Regions from separate parts of the Homo sapiens genome. Here regions 2, 3 and 4 are each linked to region 1. The links are contacts of gene promoters, found by promoter capture Hi-C in blood cells and fetal thymus (Javierre and others, 2016). All regions are on one chromosome and are shown on one strand. Each heading gives the region's core, a stretch centred on a gene start or on the middle of the fragment in contact. The rest is flanking DNA. Distances are from core to core; before and after follow the strand shown.

What was found. The method cuts DNA at HindIII sites, captures the fragments that hold promoters and counts their contacts. A CHiCAGO score of 5 or more calls a contact.
Region 2: a contact is called between a fragment that was not itself captured here and the fragment with the promoter of MYCN in region 1, in 1 of 17 cell types (naive CD8 T cells). The highest score is 6.6, in naive CD8 T cells.
Region 3: a contact is called between a fragment that was not itself captured here and the fragment with the promoter of MYCN in region 1, in 2 of 17 cell types (erythroblasts and megakaryocytes). The highest score is 6.0, in erythroblasts.
Region 4: a contact is called between a fragment that was not itself captured here and the fragment with the promoter of MYCN in region 1, in 1 of 17 cell types (erythroblasts). The highest score is 5.4, in erythroblasts.

Annotation. Positions count from the first base shown.
Region 1 is chr2:15,938,899-15,942,324 of GRCh38, forward strand. It overlaps MYCN (MYCN proto-oncogene, bHLH transcription factor), which reads left to right and starts at 1,652. Exons shown (of 3, transcript NM_005378.6): 1 at 1,652-1,845; 2 at 3,050-3,426. The coding sequence starts at 3,167. MYCNOS (MYCN opposite strand) reads right to left here and starts at 2,787. Exons shown (of 4, transcript NR_110230.2): 1 at 2,634-2,787; 2 at 2,076-2,199. RefSeq lists enhancers at 1-205, 1,250-1,780. The HindIII fragment of the contact is 19,196 bases long and covers 1-3,426 here.
Region 2 is chr2:16,624,872-16,628,297 of GRCh38, forward strand. The region is part of intron 1 of CYRIA (CYFIP related Rac1 interactor A); the gene reads right to left. Among named protein-coding and RNA genes, the nearest start is that of CYRIA, 39 kb to the right of the region's middle. The HindIII fragment of the contact is 7,677 bases long and covers 1-3,426 here.
Region 3 is chr2:16,519,222-16,522,647 of GRCh38, forward strand. No RefSeq gene overlaps it. Among named protein-coding and RNA genes, the nearest start is that of CYRIA, 140 kb to the right of the region's middle. The HindIII fragment of the contact is 533 bases long and covers 1,502-2,034 here.
Region 4 is chr2:16,459,730-16,463,155 of GRCh38, forward strand. No RefSeq gene overlaps it. Among named protein-coding and RNA genes, the nearest start is that of CYRIA, 200 kb to the right of the region's middle. The HindIII fragment of the contact is 4,041 bases long and covers 1-3,426 here.

The DNA of each region.
Region 1 (3,426 bases), core at 402-2,901:
GTCAGGGCTGGAAAGGCCTTCACAAATGCTAATCTGTGAGCATTTTATGGGTTGCCCCCTGACCCTCAGCATCCTCCTCCTTAACTAGATCCAATGGTGAGGTGAAGAGGTGGGGGCGATGGAGAATGGCATTTCCAGTTTGGAGAAAAAAGTAGGGAGAGGCGGGGAAGCCTTCCCACCCCAATCCCAGGGCCAGGTTCCCCTCTCTCCAAACAAGCCTAAGGAATGTTTTTCAAGGCAAAATCCCACCTCACTGTGTATTTGGTTGTGAAGGGGGCTGTCCAGGAGATCAGGGTTGTTTTTGGAGAGTTTGGAGGGCAGGGGCAATAATGTCTGACCCCCTGCAAACAAATACACCTGTAAGAAAAGCTAGACCAGAGTGAAGTAAAGCCAGGATTTGATGGTGGCGGGAAGGGAAGGGGCCAATGCTGCTGCTGGACAGAGGGGTGTTATTTTCCCCAGAAGAATAGCATGTCGTGGTCATCATCATAATAATAGCTGACACAACTATTATGGGCTGGGGACTTATAAGAGCTTTCATAACTCTCAGGTAGGAGGCACTACGAACTCCATTTCACAATTGAGGAAACTGAGGCACAAAGAAACGAAGTAGTGACAGCAGCTTTCCTTTTTCCCTTCAACAGTTTGGAATCAAGCTGTTTGAGCCGAGGCTGGGTCTCAGGAGGTGTGGACAGCACTTCCATCTCGGTAAATCAGATTCGCCTGCCCATAACTGGGGAGAATGGTGGCTTTGAAAAGGTTAACTTGGGAGCCCTGGGGACGGCTGCAGGGAACGTACGCCCATTCCCCCTAGGAAGCAGAGCCAGGCCGCCTCCTCCTCCGCAGTGGTGAGGACGCGTGGACAGTCCCGCGGGGGCGGCGGGAGACCTGCGGAGTGGCCGCACTCCAGGTCCGCGCCAAGGCCGGGCAGCTCCGCTTTCTGCTCAGTCTCCGCGAGGTGTCGCCTTCGGCCGAAGAAACCACCGCGGCGCCACCCTCGTAGCTCGCACTTATTTATTTATTTATTTTCAAACAAGGGGGGCGCCCCTCTTCTTTCAATTTGAAACTGGAAACATCCAGAGGTCTTGTTCCTAAGGGGGCGCGTCCTCTCCCTGCTATTTTGCACCTTCGGACTAGCCTTCTTTCGTAATTACACAGGAGCAACCTCCCTGCAAGGCCTTGCTCAACGTTGGCCTCGCGCTCAGCTGCACAACACGCAGTCAAAGCGGGGGCTGGGTTAGAAGCATCGGTCTCCCCTCCCCAACACACACCCCCGGAGCCCTCCGTAATTTTTTTTTCTTTTAATGACAAGCAATTGCCAGGCTCGCAGGGTGGGTGCTGCATTGCACCGCTCCGCGCGCAGCTGGTTCTCAGAGTGCAGCCGGTGCAAGCCCGGGGGTCCAAAAGGGCGGGAGGAGCACACCCTGGGCTTCCCAGCTTTGCAGCCTTCTCTCTGCAAAGAAAAGCAAGTGGCTTTTGGCGCGAAAGCCTTGGCGCCTCCCCTGATTTTTATGGAAATCAGGAGGGCGGGGTAAAGCCGCTTTCCTCTCCTTTCTCCCTCCCCCTTGTCTGCGCCACAGCCCCCTTCTCTCCCCGCCCCCCGGGTGTGTCAGATTTTTCAGTTAATAATATCCCCCGAGCTTCAAAGCGCAGGCTGTGACAGTCATCTGTCTGGACGCGCTGGGTGGATGCGGGGGGCTCCTGGGAACTGTGTTGGAGCCGAGCAAGCGCTAGCCAGGCGCAAGCGCGCACAGACTGTAGCCATCCGAGGACACCCCCGCCCCCCCGGCCCACCCGGAGACACCCGCGCAGAATCGCCTCCGGATCCCCTGCAGTCGGCGGGAGGTAAGGAGCAGGGCTTGCAAACCGCCCGGCGCCCAGGGAAGCGACGAGCGCCGGGGCAAGGCAAGCCCTGGACGGGATTGCGACGTGCGCACCGGGCGCCCTAATATGCCCGGGGGACTGTTTCTGCTTCCGAAACAAAACCATCTCTGGGTTTTCCCAGAAAAGCCAGTTCCAGCCCCGAAGGCATCCTGGCTAGAGGAGACCCGCCCTAATCCTTTTGCAGCCCTTACCGGGGGGAGTAATGGCTTCTGCGAAAAGAAATTCCCTCGGCTCTAGAAGATCTGTCTGTGTTTGAGCTGTCGGAGAGCCGGTGCGTCCCCACCCCAGGCTGGGGTTCTTCTCCAAAGGGTGCCCCTGGAGGAAGAAGAGGGGGGGATTAGGCAGGGCGAGGCCGCCGCGGTCGCAATCTGGGTCACGGCTGCTCCAGCTTGGAGGAGAGGCGGCTCTCCCGGCGACCCTCCTCGCGCGGGCGCCCCTGCCATTCCCGGGAACAGGGGCTCAGCCTCTCCCTCCCTGGAAGAGGACGTTGTCGTGGGTTTGGAAGAGCAGGGGTGGGCTTAGAGAGCTTCCAATTAAGCTATTGGCAGGAGTATCCCTGCAGCGGGTGAATGCCGAGGGGCGTTTGCTCAAATTTGGGGAGGGGAAGGATTTGTGGATATGGGTGTCTGTTGTTGGTCTCTGTCTAGAGAAAGGCTTTTTTTTATTTGCAAAGTTTTCTAAATCCCCTGCTATCATTTGCACTCCTGAGGTTGCATTTTTACAAAGGGGGTAGAAGGTACTCCAAATACCATTCCCGGTAGCTGGGTCGGAGAGCCTGGGGCTTCCCCTGAGCAGCCGGCCCCACACCGCTGCGAGTGCGGTTGTCTGCGTGCTCGTGAGAGCTAGAATTCTGCAGCCAGGAACAGCCCCCTCCCCCAGGCAGTGCCTTGTGTGAATGAAATGGCAGTTTCCAAAGTTGCGGAGCCTCGCCACCACCCCCTGCATCTGCATGCCCCCTCCCACCCCCTGTCGTAGACAGCTTGTACACAAAAGGAGGGCGGGAGGGAGGGAGCGAGAGGCACAACTTCCTCCACCTTCGGGAGCAGTGGGCAGAGTGGGGGGCTTGGAGGGAAGATTGGGGAACCTGGTTAGAGGGGGCGCCCATTGCCTATCCCCTCGGTCTGCCCCGTTTGCCCACCCTCTCCGGTGTGTCTGTCGGTTGCAGTGTTGGAGGTCGGCGCCGGCCCCCGCCTTCCGCGCCCCCCACGGGAAGGAAGCACCCCCGGTATTAAAACGAACGGGGCGGAAAGAAGCCCTCAGTCGCCGGCCGGGAGGCGAGCCGATGCCGAGCTGCTCCACGTCCACCATGCCGGGCATGATCTGCAAGAACCCAGACCTCGAGTTTGACTCGCTACAGCCCTGCTTCTACCCGGACGAAGATGACTTCTACTTCGGCGGCCCCGACTCGACCCCCCCGGGGGAGGACATCTGGAAGAAGTTTGAGCTGCTGCCCACGCCCCCGCTGTCGCCCAGCCGTGGCTTCGCGGAGCACAGCTCCGAGCCCCCGAGCTGGGTCACGGAGATGCTGCTTGAGAACGAGCT
Region 2 (3,426 bases), core at 631-3,130, 690 kb after region 1:
TTAATTCCATTTTTCCAAAGAGGTAGGAAACCAATCTTTCAAGAGCTAGGATGATCTACAGAGTCAAAAAGAGATACAATGCAGAAGCAGAAATAAACTCATGTCTCCTAAATCTACTTTTTGCTATCTAAACTGAACTATATAGTTTGTTACTAGGGCAAACACTAGAGTTGTCTGTTTTTTCCAATGTTTCAGCTCAAATGCATGAGACAGTTCTTTAAAGCTGAAACTGTGGTAAGGGCATGAAAGATTATTTTTATTAGATTCTCTTTCTGATGGGGGTGGGGGATGGTGGTGGGCTTGTGGGGGAAGTAGGGGTCTAAAGTCCAAGACTTCCTGCCAGGCTCCCAGCTGGGGCTCCCAGGCCCCCAGAGGCTGGGCTGGTTCTGGCTCTCAGCAGCAGGGGCAGCAGCAAGAGGGCACCTCAGGAAGTCACAATTATCAACGCTCCCTGGCTCAAGGCTTTGTTCCTGTTCTCAGACAACAAGGGACATGCCAGGAGAGATGGGGTGGGGGTGGAGAAAGAGGAAGAAAAAACAGGAAGTGAAGTGGGGGAGGAGGGAAGGAAATGATAGAGAAAACACAGCAACTCTGAAATGTCCTTGGCTTGATGAGAAAGTGATTTCTGAGTGGACGTTAGTGGAGCTGGGCCCTGCATTTTAGGAAACCGGATTGTGATGGTAACAGGGCAGGGCAAAGACGTTTACTTCCTCCAAACTCAGGGTTGGGGTCCACAAATTCCACTTCCCACCACCAAGCACCGCCTGGCACAGGGATGTTTTCCACACCTCAGGTGTAGACATGGAAGGTGGTGAATTTCCAAAGAAGGATTCTGGGGTAAGGCCCTGTTCCTCACCTTTTGACTGTGGCTGAGGGGCCAGGCGTGTCACAAAAGGATCTGGAAACAAGAGAAAAGCTCTCAAAGTGATCAGGTATCAGGGAGAGCTATCCCATCCTCACTGCTTTTTTTTTTTTTCTCAAATGTCCTCAGAATTGAACCCATTTTCAGTGTGCATGACTGGGATGGATTCACTCAGCTGGGTTCAGCACAAATGCTGCTATTTTCCACCACAAAACCAAGAGGGTCAGTCAGGCGGAACACCGGGTTTCCTCCTGATCATCATTCTAAGACACCTCCTGCTTGTCTTCCTGTCCATTTTGTTGACTCCATTTACTTACTGAGGCTTACAGAAATTCCCCAACTCCAAATGCACATTGTAAAGAATGACAGTCACCTGGTAACTTGAACAACCACACACAGAGATGACCCTAATAATAACTTAATAACCGAATACCACTTCTACTAATGCTAATACTATTCATAGACCCCTGATGGGCACCAAGGGGTAGAGAATGCAGAGCCCGTAAGCCATCACATACTGGTTCCCCTACTCCAGCGGGCCCCCTGTACTGGCTACGCATCTAAGAAGCTCACAAAAAATACAGACCCAATCCAGAGCAGCGGTCAGGAAACTTGTACGGTTAAAAATCTTCTGAGAGGGTTTTAGTGCCACCAACTTGGCTCTGATCCATGGACTAGCATTCAGTTAACACGGACCCCCACTCAGCTCTCACCCTCACCCCACCTTCTCCCACCTTACAGATGCAACCACAAAGGCTCGCCAAGGGCAGGGGCTCACTCCAGGTCCCACAGCTAATGGCCTCCCAGGGATCTGCCCCACTACTCCAAACCAAACATAGAACAACAAAAAGTCAGCATATGTTTGAGAGGACTCCAAGCCTTCTGAAGCAATTGCTGATGGTTTACTGTGTGAGTCACCCCGGGGCCAAGTGTCCATTAGGGAGAACAGAGAGCAAGGGGGGAAAGAAACTGAAAACTCTCATCTCGCATCTCCACAGGCAGCACAACCTCACATATCACCAGCAACACCAGCATGCATTTGCTCCCATCCAAGCAGCCACAGGCGGCCCAGGCTACTTCCACAGTGCTATGCCCTGTGCCTGGCCTGGTGGGGCTTCACACCACACAACACAATCAGGAGTTTGCCCTTCTGTAGCACCTGGCAGCCAGTGAAATGCTTTTCCATATCTTTTCATCTTTGCTCATTTTGAGAGCGGTACAAAGCTGAGGGGTAATCACCCCAGTTTATAAATGGAGAAGCCGAAATCAGAGACAGGAGGTGCCTTATCCAGAGTCTCAAAACAGAACTAGGGCCCGAAATAGGCATCTCCTGTCTTCCAGTCTAGCGACCTTTCCCCATGTCCTGTCCCACCCCACCCCATTCAGGGGAGGGCTAGGGAAGAGCTTCAAACGGCTGCTGCCTTCCCCTTCTGAATGGCTCTGGAAATAGAAAAGCAAGGCACAACAACTGAAGGGAAGGCAATATCCACTACGGGAGGCCGAAAGGGCCCCAAAGACTGTGTCCCCACCCTCCGGGGTGGGCAATCAAGGGACCCAAAGCCCAGGGTGGGGCATGCTTGTGCCCACAGTTCACCAGCAGCAGAGCTTAGACTGAGTCCCTCAATGCCAGAAGCACAGAGCAACACTGAGAAACCAGAAGGGGCAGGTGTTTGGATAATAAAAATAGCTAACACTGATCAAGTACTTACTGTGTGTTGGGCTTTGTTTAGCACTGTACATGTAGTGACTCCCTGAAACCTCATGGCAACCAAACTAGGTAGGCATTATTATTGTCCCCTTTTACAGAAGAGGTAACTGAGGCACAAAATGATTAAGTCACTTGTCCATGGGATTTAGCTTTTGAGTGATAGAGTCAAGGTGTGAACTTAAGCAGTCTGGCTCAAATTCTGCAAAGCCAAATAGTGGAAAGAAAGAGAATAAAGCAAATACACTAGGAACAGATGACACCTTCCTTCAAAAGGAGAGAAGGAAGATAGGAGACTCTCCAGGCAGGAAAGACTGACAGCTGCTGTGCAGGCAGAATTAGGAATTTGGTACCTAGTGCCCTCTGGGTAGCAGCCGACCAATGTCAGGCAACACCAGTAAATGACATCCTGGTGTTGGTGTTTATACAGCATGGCTGGGCCAGGGAGGGGATGAAGGCAGGGCCTGAGATGGGTGGAGGGGATGATGCCTTGGAAAGCCAATTCCTATGTCCCAGAGAGATGGAGCAGCTGGGCGGGCAGGCAGGCGGTTCCCTTTCTGCATCCCCAGCACCAGCAGTGCACACATGCCCGGGACACCAGGCTTCGGGGATGCCACTGGGTTTCAGCCTCATGATGCCTGGGAAGCCAGGAAAGACAGGGGTCATCTCTCACCATTTCTACAATGAAGAGCTAAAGCCAAAAACAGTCACAGCCCTAGAATAATAACAACAACAACAGCCACCATTTGTTGGCAGGTTATGATTTGTCAGGAAATATTCTAGATGTGTATATAGATTATGTAAAAATGATACCAACTCTGAGAGGTCCATATGATTATTCTTAATTTGCAGTTGAGGA
Region 3 (3,426 bases), core at 518-3,017, 580 kb after region 1:
CCAGAAGGAAGGGAACACATGCTCCTTTCCCTCCCTGGCCATTTTAAAGCCCACCATCCTTCATACTCCCATCTGGAGCTTTCTTCTGATGCTCTCTAGGGAGCAAGTTCTGAAGGGACAATTGAGAAAAGGACACAAGGACCCTGGATGGTTGGGGTGTGAGTGAGGGGAGAAAGGGGCATTTCCTGGGGGACAAACAGTGCCAAGCCCTTTGGCTTTCTTTTAACAGGGGACATAAGGGACCCAAGAGAGACGTTTTCAGACATGCCACATTCTTCCACGGATATGTCATGAAGCTGGATTTCAGGATATCTAGAAGAGCCTTTTCTCTTGTTGTTCCCCTTCTATTAAACCCATGTTGTTCTCTGCTTTTCTTCTTTTGTCTCCACCTTCTTTATTCCTCATCACTTTAACCCTGCCTTTCTTTTTATCTTCCTTTCTACCTACTCATTTGAATTCCTATGTCTTAAGAAGGCCTAGGTATCGCTTCTCAGCCTTTTGGCTAAGATCAGGTGAAGAAGGCCTAGGCTCCAACAGCCAAAGAGTAATGGAGAAAGAAGAGGGAATAGCATGACTGAGCTTACTACCACTCAGCATCGTGCTAAACGGTTTCCATACATGGTCTGATTTAATGCTTACAACTGTTCAGTCAGGCAGATTTCTTGTTTATACTTTTCAAATGAGAACTCCAAGGCTGAAGAAATTAAAGGATGTTTCCAAAATCACACACCTAGTGCGGAACAGTCATGTCATTCTTTGAGTGTCAACTGCATACTAGGTCCTGTGTAAGCCCAGGGGTACAAAAATAAATATGACATTTACCATCAAGGCCCCCTAACCTAGCAGCAGTGGAGCCCCCTGTGATTCTGCTGAGACTCTACTGTACCTTGCTGCCTGACACAATCAATTCACAATTCAGGGAGAAACATAGCAAGTGAAAGTCTATGGAGAGTTATAGAGGAAGCAAGAATGGGCAAATACTGAAATTGAGTGATTGATACCTGGAGGTTCACCATATTACTTTCCTTACCTAATTAACATCTGGAAAACTTCACATCACAGGCTTGTAATTGTGTCTTTTCTGAAATAGAGACACCCAAGTTTAAAATGGAGCACATCTTCTCAGTAATCAAGACTCCTAAAAACAAAAAATTTCAAAACAGATATGTCCTTATTGGGACTTGTTCTTGCTCTCCGGTTTACATAGGGTTTTACAGGCAAACATGGCCACTCAGAAAGGAGAACATATGCAACGAGCAACCCACACTCCATCTGCCATTAGACACAGAAGACAGGAGAGCCACATGGAATGAGAGACCTCTGTCCAACCGGGACATAATAAGATACTCAATCCTGTTTTTCAAGACTTCTGTGCATATATCACCAAAGACACTAGAAACAACTTACAGTACTCCAAGACACGTAGTCTTATAGGAAACCATTCTCCCTGACATTGGAGTCTCCACTTCTGAGAAGGAAATAGAATAATCAATTTCCTACAAGCTTGCTTTGTGCAGGGAAAATAGCTTGATTGAAAACTCAAACAGATGTTTCTACTTCGCGTCTGCTCTGAGCAGGCTTTTCTTCCTGGTCCTTTGAAATCTTTGGCTATGATGGCTACTGGTAGAATGGATCCATCTCTGCATAGAAGATGGCAACAGGCAGAGTCCTTTGCCGATGCCAGATCCCTTCCCACTCAAAACATTGCCATGTGACAATCTCAGAAAGCAGCTCCTCTGGTTCTGCCTGCACTGAGAATGTGGTTTTAGCTGCTGGCTGACATGGTGCTTCTGCTGCTGCACAATCTGGATGTTGAGACTGGCCTAATCCAGCTATTTAGGTGGGTCATTTATATCAGGCCACAGGGAATGGGGTGATGGTGCCAATCTATCATTCAGTGTTTTTCCCTGAGCACATCCTACATGCTGAGGCTTGTGCTAGGAGACTTCAGGAATCAAAGAGGAGCATGATTTAGTCCATCCACATGGCAGCTGGGGCAACAGAAAATAACATAACTCAAGCTACATGTTCAAAAGCTTGATCTGCTCCTTTTGTCCACAGCTCACTCCTGTTTCAGTGTGTGACCCTCCACTCCACCCACTCATACCAGAGACCTGGGATTCATTCTGGATCTTTTCCTGACTTTTCTCCCCACATATAATCAGTCATTAAGTCCTCCAGAGCTTTCTTCTGCATTCTGTGGGGCTGCCCCCACTCAGCCATTTCCTTCTCCCGCTCCCCTCCCAGGATGTCCCGCGCCATCTTTTCTTCATCTGAGGCTGGAGGAAGGTTCACGGCACTTTCCTTTTCAATGTTTCTCAGTGACTCCCCATGATCCTTCTGATCAAGCCTGTCCAGTCACCTAAAACTCAGATGCCCTCCATGCTGCACTCTCATGAGGCATCTCCCATTTCACGCCCTACTTCTGTCCTTTGGGAGTCAAACCAGGCTCTTGACTCCTTGCAGTATTCAACTCACATTTTCCTGATACCTCCTCTCACTTCCTGACTTTTATTCTGTCTGGAATATATCTTGCTTTGTCCAAATACTACTGCCTGTTCTTCATACCTTGCTCAGATACCACTCCTGTATGAAGCCTTCCTTGACCTGCCAGTCTAAAGGTGTCTTGTTTTTCTTTAAATCCCTTTAAGACTTCTGTTTGTAAAAGCATTGAGGTTAGAGGAGAAGTTTTATATAAAACAGGTTTGGCCTTGAAATTTGATTAAGCCACTAAATAACCAGGTACTCTTGAGTTAACATCTCAAGCCTCAGTTTTTAATTCTGTGAAAGGGAGAATGATCATACCACCTACTTTGTTGTAAAGATCAGAGCTAACGTATGCAAAGCAGTTCCACCATACACACGGTAGGTGCTTGATAGAGTAGGAATTGCTGTTATTATTTATGCCAGTATCCTGTACTGTCTGTGAGTTTGTTGGGTGTTGGCTGAGGCTCCTGCTCTCATCCATTTTACAGGGTGGCTGCCCAGGGCCTGCCTCTGGTGGGTGCTGGGGACAGCTGCATTTCCTGTGCTGGGGGAGAGCAAGGATCTGATCTGGGGCTGCTGAGGGCACAGAGCGGTCACAGAGAACAGCAGGCCCAAAACCCATATTATCAAAGGCCCGAGGCCCTGCAAGGACTGGCATGTTTCGTTCAAACAAAAGGAAGGGTTTCCTTGAAAATCCCACTCTTGCCTCCCCCACATTTCCCTCTTGGCTGCTTCTGTGGCCACACATGTTTCCGATGAATCCACATTCAAATGAATTTCGGCCGACAAATAACTCGATACAGCTCTTTGGTGGGAGAGAATTCCATCAGGATGAGGTCATGGTTTGGCTACAGTAAAATTAAAAATAACCTAGAGCCCCCCACTGCCCAGCCTGGCATCAGCCCAGGACAGTGCATTTGGGAACCATTATCGGGTTTA
Region 4 (3,426 bases), core at 370-2,869, 520 kb after region 1:
TGCACTATGTACTGAAACTGCCTCCAGGCAGCAAACTGGGCAATTGTAGGGCTCACCTCATTTGTTTCTCTTCTCTCAGGGATAACAGGCTTGCTCTGCTATTTCCCAGTATCTGAAAACAGTTGTTTCATGTATTTGTCTGGTTTTCTAGCTGTTTATGGTGAGAGGGCAGTTCCCATAACAGTTCATCCTTCATGGTCAGAAGCAGATGTTGGCATCAATATTTCATAAATTTCTATGGGTTACTGCATTGTGCAGCCAGGGTGGAGAGCAAGTGCTTTAGACACTCGTCAATATCAGTTTTGCTTGCCTTTTAAATCCTTGTCAATTCTTTACATGAAAAATGATGCATATATTTTTTGAACTTCAATGATTTGTGAGGTTGAATGACTTTTTATATTTACTGACCAGTTGCATTTTTCTTTAGACTTTAGACTGGTTGAGATTTTTTATCCCTCTTTTTCTCTTTGAGAAATTTGATTTTTCCTGATAGGTTTGCAGTAGCTCTTTAGACAGTAGTTCCCCCTTATCCGAGAAGGTGCATTCCAGGACCCCAAGTAGATGCCTTAAACCACAGATGTATTGGACCTTATATATTCTGTTTTTTTCTTACACCACATACCCTTGGTAAAGTTTAGTTTATAAACTAGGCATGGTAAGAGATTAACAATAATAACGAATAATAAAATAACAAGTATAGTAATATGCTGTAATAAAAATTATACAAATATGGTCTCTCTTCATCTCTCTCAAAATATCTTATTATACTATGCCCACCTATTTCCAGACCACATTTTACTATGGGTAAGTGAAGCCAGATAAAGGGGGACTACAGTAGGTTACTGATATTATTCTTTCCCTGCCATTTATGTTACAAATGATTTTTCCAAGTTATTATGCATGTGTCAGCCTTGTCTGTGGTGGTTGCAATGTGGAACGTGTTGAGGGGAAGGCCACAGTTTGTGCCATGAAGACTCTTCTGATTTTATACATAGTCAAATATACCAGTTGTTTCCTTTATGGTTTCTGGCTTACATCTCATCTCATGAAAGATGCTTTTCTGTGGCATAGTAGATGGATTTATTTTGTTTTCAATAGTTTTCCTAAAGGACATTCCTCCCAGGGCACATTTCAAAGAAAGGGCTTCTTTTTAGTGGTACTTTGCCTTTTTTGGTTAACAAACCCTTAGAAATCTGAAAGACCATAATAGATCTTATGACCTCAAAAAACTGCATATGTGTCCATACGCCAAAAGTCTGCATAGATTCTGGGTTTTAGACCCCTGTTTAGTGACCCTTATTGTGTTAGTCAGGTTTCTCTACAGAAACGGAACCAATAGGAGACAGACACACAGAGAGAGGTAGATATAGATACAGTAATAGAGATAGATGACAGATAGATAGATAGATAGATAGATAGAGATAGATAGACATAGATATAAAAGAAGGTTTATTATGAGGGTTTGGTTTATGTAATTATGAGGCTGAGAAGTCCCACAGTCTGCTATCTGCAACCTGGAGACTGAGGAAAGCTGGTGGTATAATTCCAGTCTAAGAGGAGGAAGAGACTGATGTCCCAGCTCAAGCAGGAAGGCCAGAAGCAAAAAGTGATGAATTCCTTCTTCCTCTTCCTTTTTGTTTTATTTAGGCCCTCAACAGATTGGATGATGTCCACCCATATTGGGGAGGGCAATCTACTTCACAGAATCCACCAATCCAAATGCTAATCATCTGGAAACATCCTCACAGAGAAACCCAGAAATAATGTTTAATCTGGGTGTCCCATAGCATGCTCAAGTTGACACATAAACTTAGCCATTACATCTATCATAGATTGCCTATGAGAGAAGAATCTATTACTGGTGTCTGTGAGTGTGAGAGCCAGGAAGGCTGTGGCTGGCCTCCCTGTAGTCACCTTGGATGTGCTATTGATGTGGATGAGGCTTTTCCCTGGGGCCTTTCTTCTCATAGGAGTCCTCCCTCCCCACCCCGAGATACTGATACTTCACATTTTAGTGAAGTGCACAGTAGAATAGAAGAAGCTCTGAGTTAGAAATTAACAAAGGACTGAGGTTACATTGAGGCAAGTGGGAGTCTGACCCCTGCAGGACAGCCACAGTTTGATCCTGCAGATGAGCCCAGTTCCAGACAGCATTTTCCTTAATCCTTTAGACTCCCATGCCTCTAGCAATCCACAAGAGATTCCTAACTGACTGTATTTTCTTAGCTTGTTTCCCTCTTTAGGTGATGCAGGAAGCCAAGGGGCTGGAGTGAGAGGAACGGCCTCACCCTCGTTGAGATTAGGCTCTTTAGAGTCTTTTTCTGGATAGCAGGTCTTCGTCATGGAGGCCACTCTGGGCTACTTCAAAATGGTGACTTTCCTCCTCTTCCCTTCCACATTTTCCCCCAGAGGTAGACAGGGATCTTTTCTGGCTTTGGATCTTTCTTTACTTTGAAAACTTGGGGGAGTTCCTAGAGGTAAACCCCTCAGATGTCCCACCATGTAACCCTGCCCAAGAAGCCAAAAGAAATCTCTTCCTACCTAACAGATTGAATGGCTCCTTGACCCCCATGGGGACTGGTCTCTGGAGTCTAAAGAGAAAGACAGCAGTGGAGAGAAATGAGGTTTTACAAGCAGTTGGAGCCCAGGCCATGAAAGTTTGTTTAAACATTCTTCTATGCCCATTCTAGGGGCAGTGAGGAACCACCTAAGAAGAGTCTGTAAGTGAGATTTTCAGATTTGCATTTCCAGAGATCACCCTAGTACTTTGTGAAGGTGGGGTTAAGCAGACTGAGTTAGGAGTCAATTTCCATCATCTGGGACAGAGACAGGGAGACAGTGGCCTGAAGTGATATTCCTGGAGACAAAGAGAAGTTTAAGGGTCCAAGAATATAAAGAAGCAGCACATTTGGTGACTGATGATGGCTGGTGGCAGAAAAAGGAACTGAGTCTGGACAGGCTCAGGATGTCACAGCTTCCAGCCTCCCAGAAGTGCTCCATGGAGCTTCAGCCCCAGCACATCTGGTCTCCCACTTGCTCCAAGGAGGCAATGAAGGGGGCATAGAAGTGCCTTCTGAACTCCCTTTATCCACCATCAGGCACAAGAGTCAACGTGTTCACAGGTAATTGTTGAGCATAGTCTACTTAGATTCTAATCACACCATGAAACACTTACTTGAAATTCATAACATGGGAACAGTCCTGTTAAACTACGAAAGATTGGCAAAATATAAAAAGAACCTCGTCTACATGACTAACCTGAATGTGCCAATTAAGCTAACTAGCAGCAGCTTATGCAATTGTTTTGCATCTGAGAAATCTCCACGCAGAAATGGACTCGGCTGAGTACAAAGTGCTACTCCATTACAGGCTCAGATAACGTTAGACCAGCTGGGTATGCCAGCCAGCTAGGTTCACATCACAGTC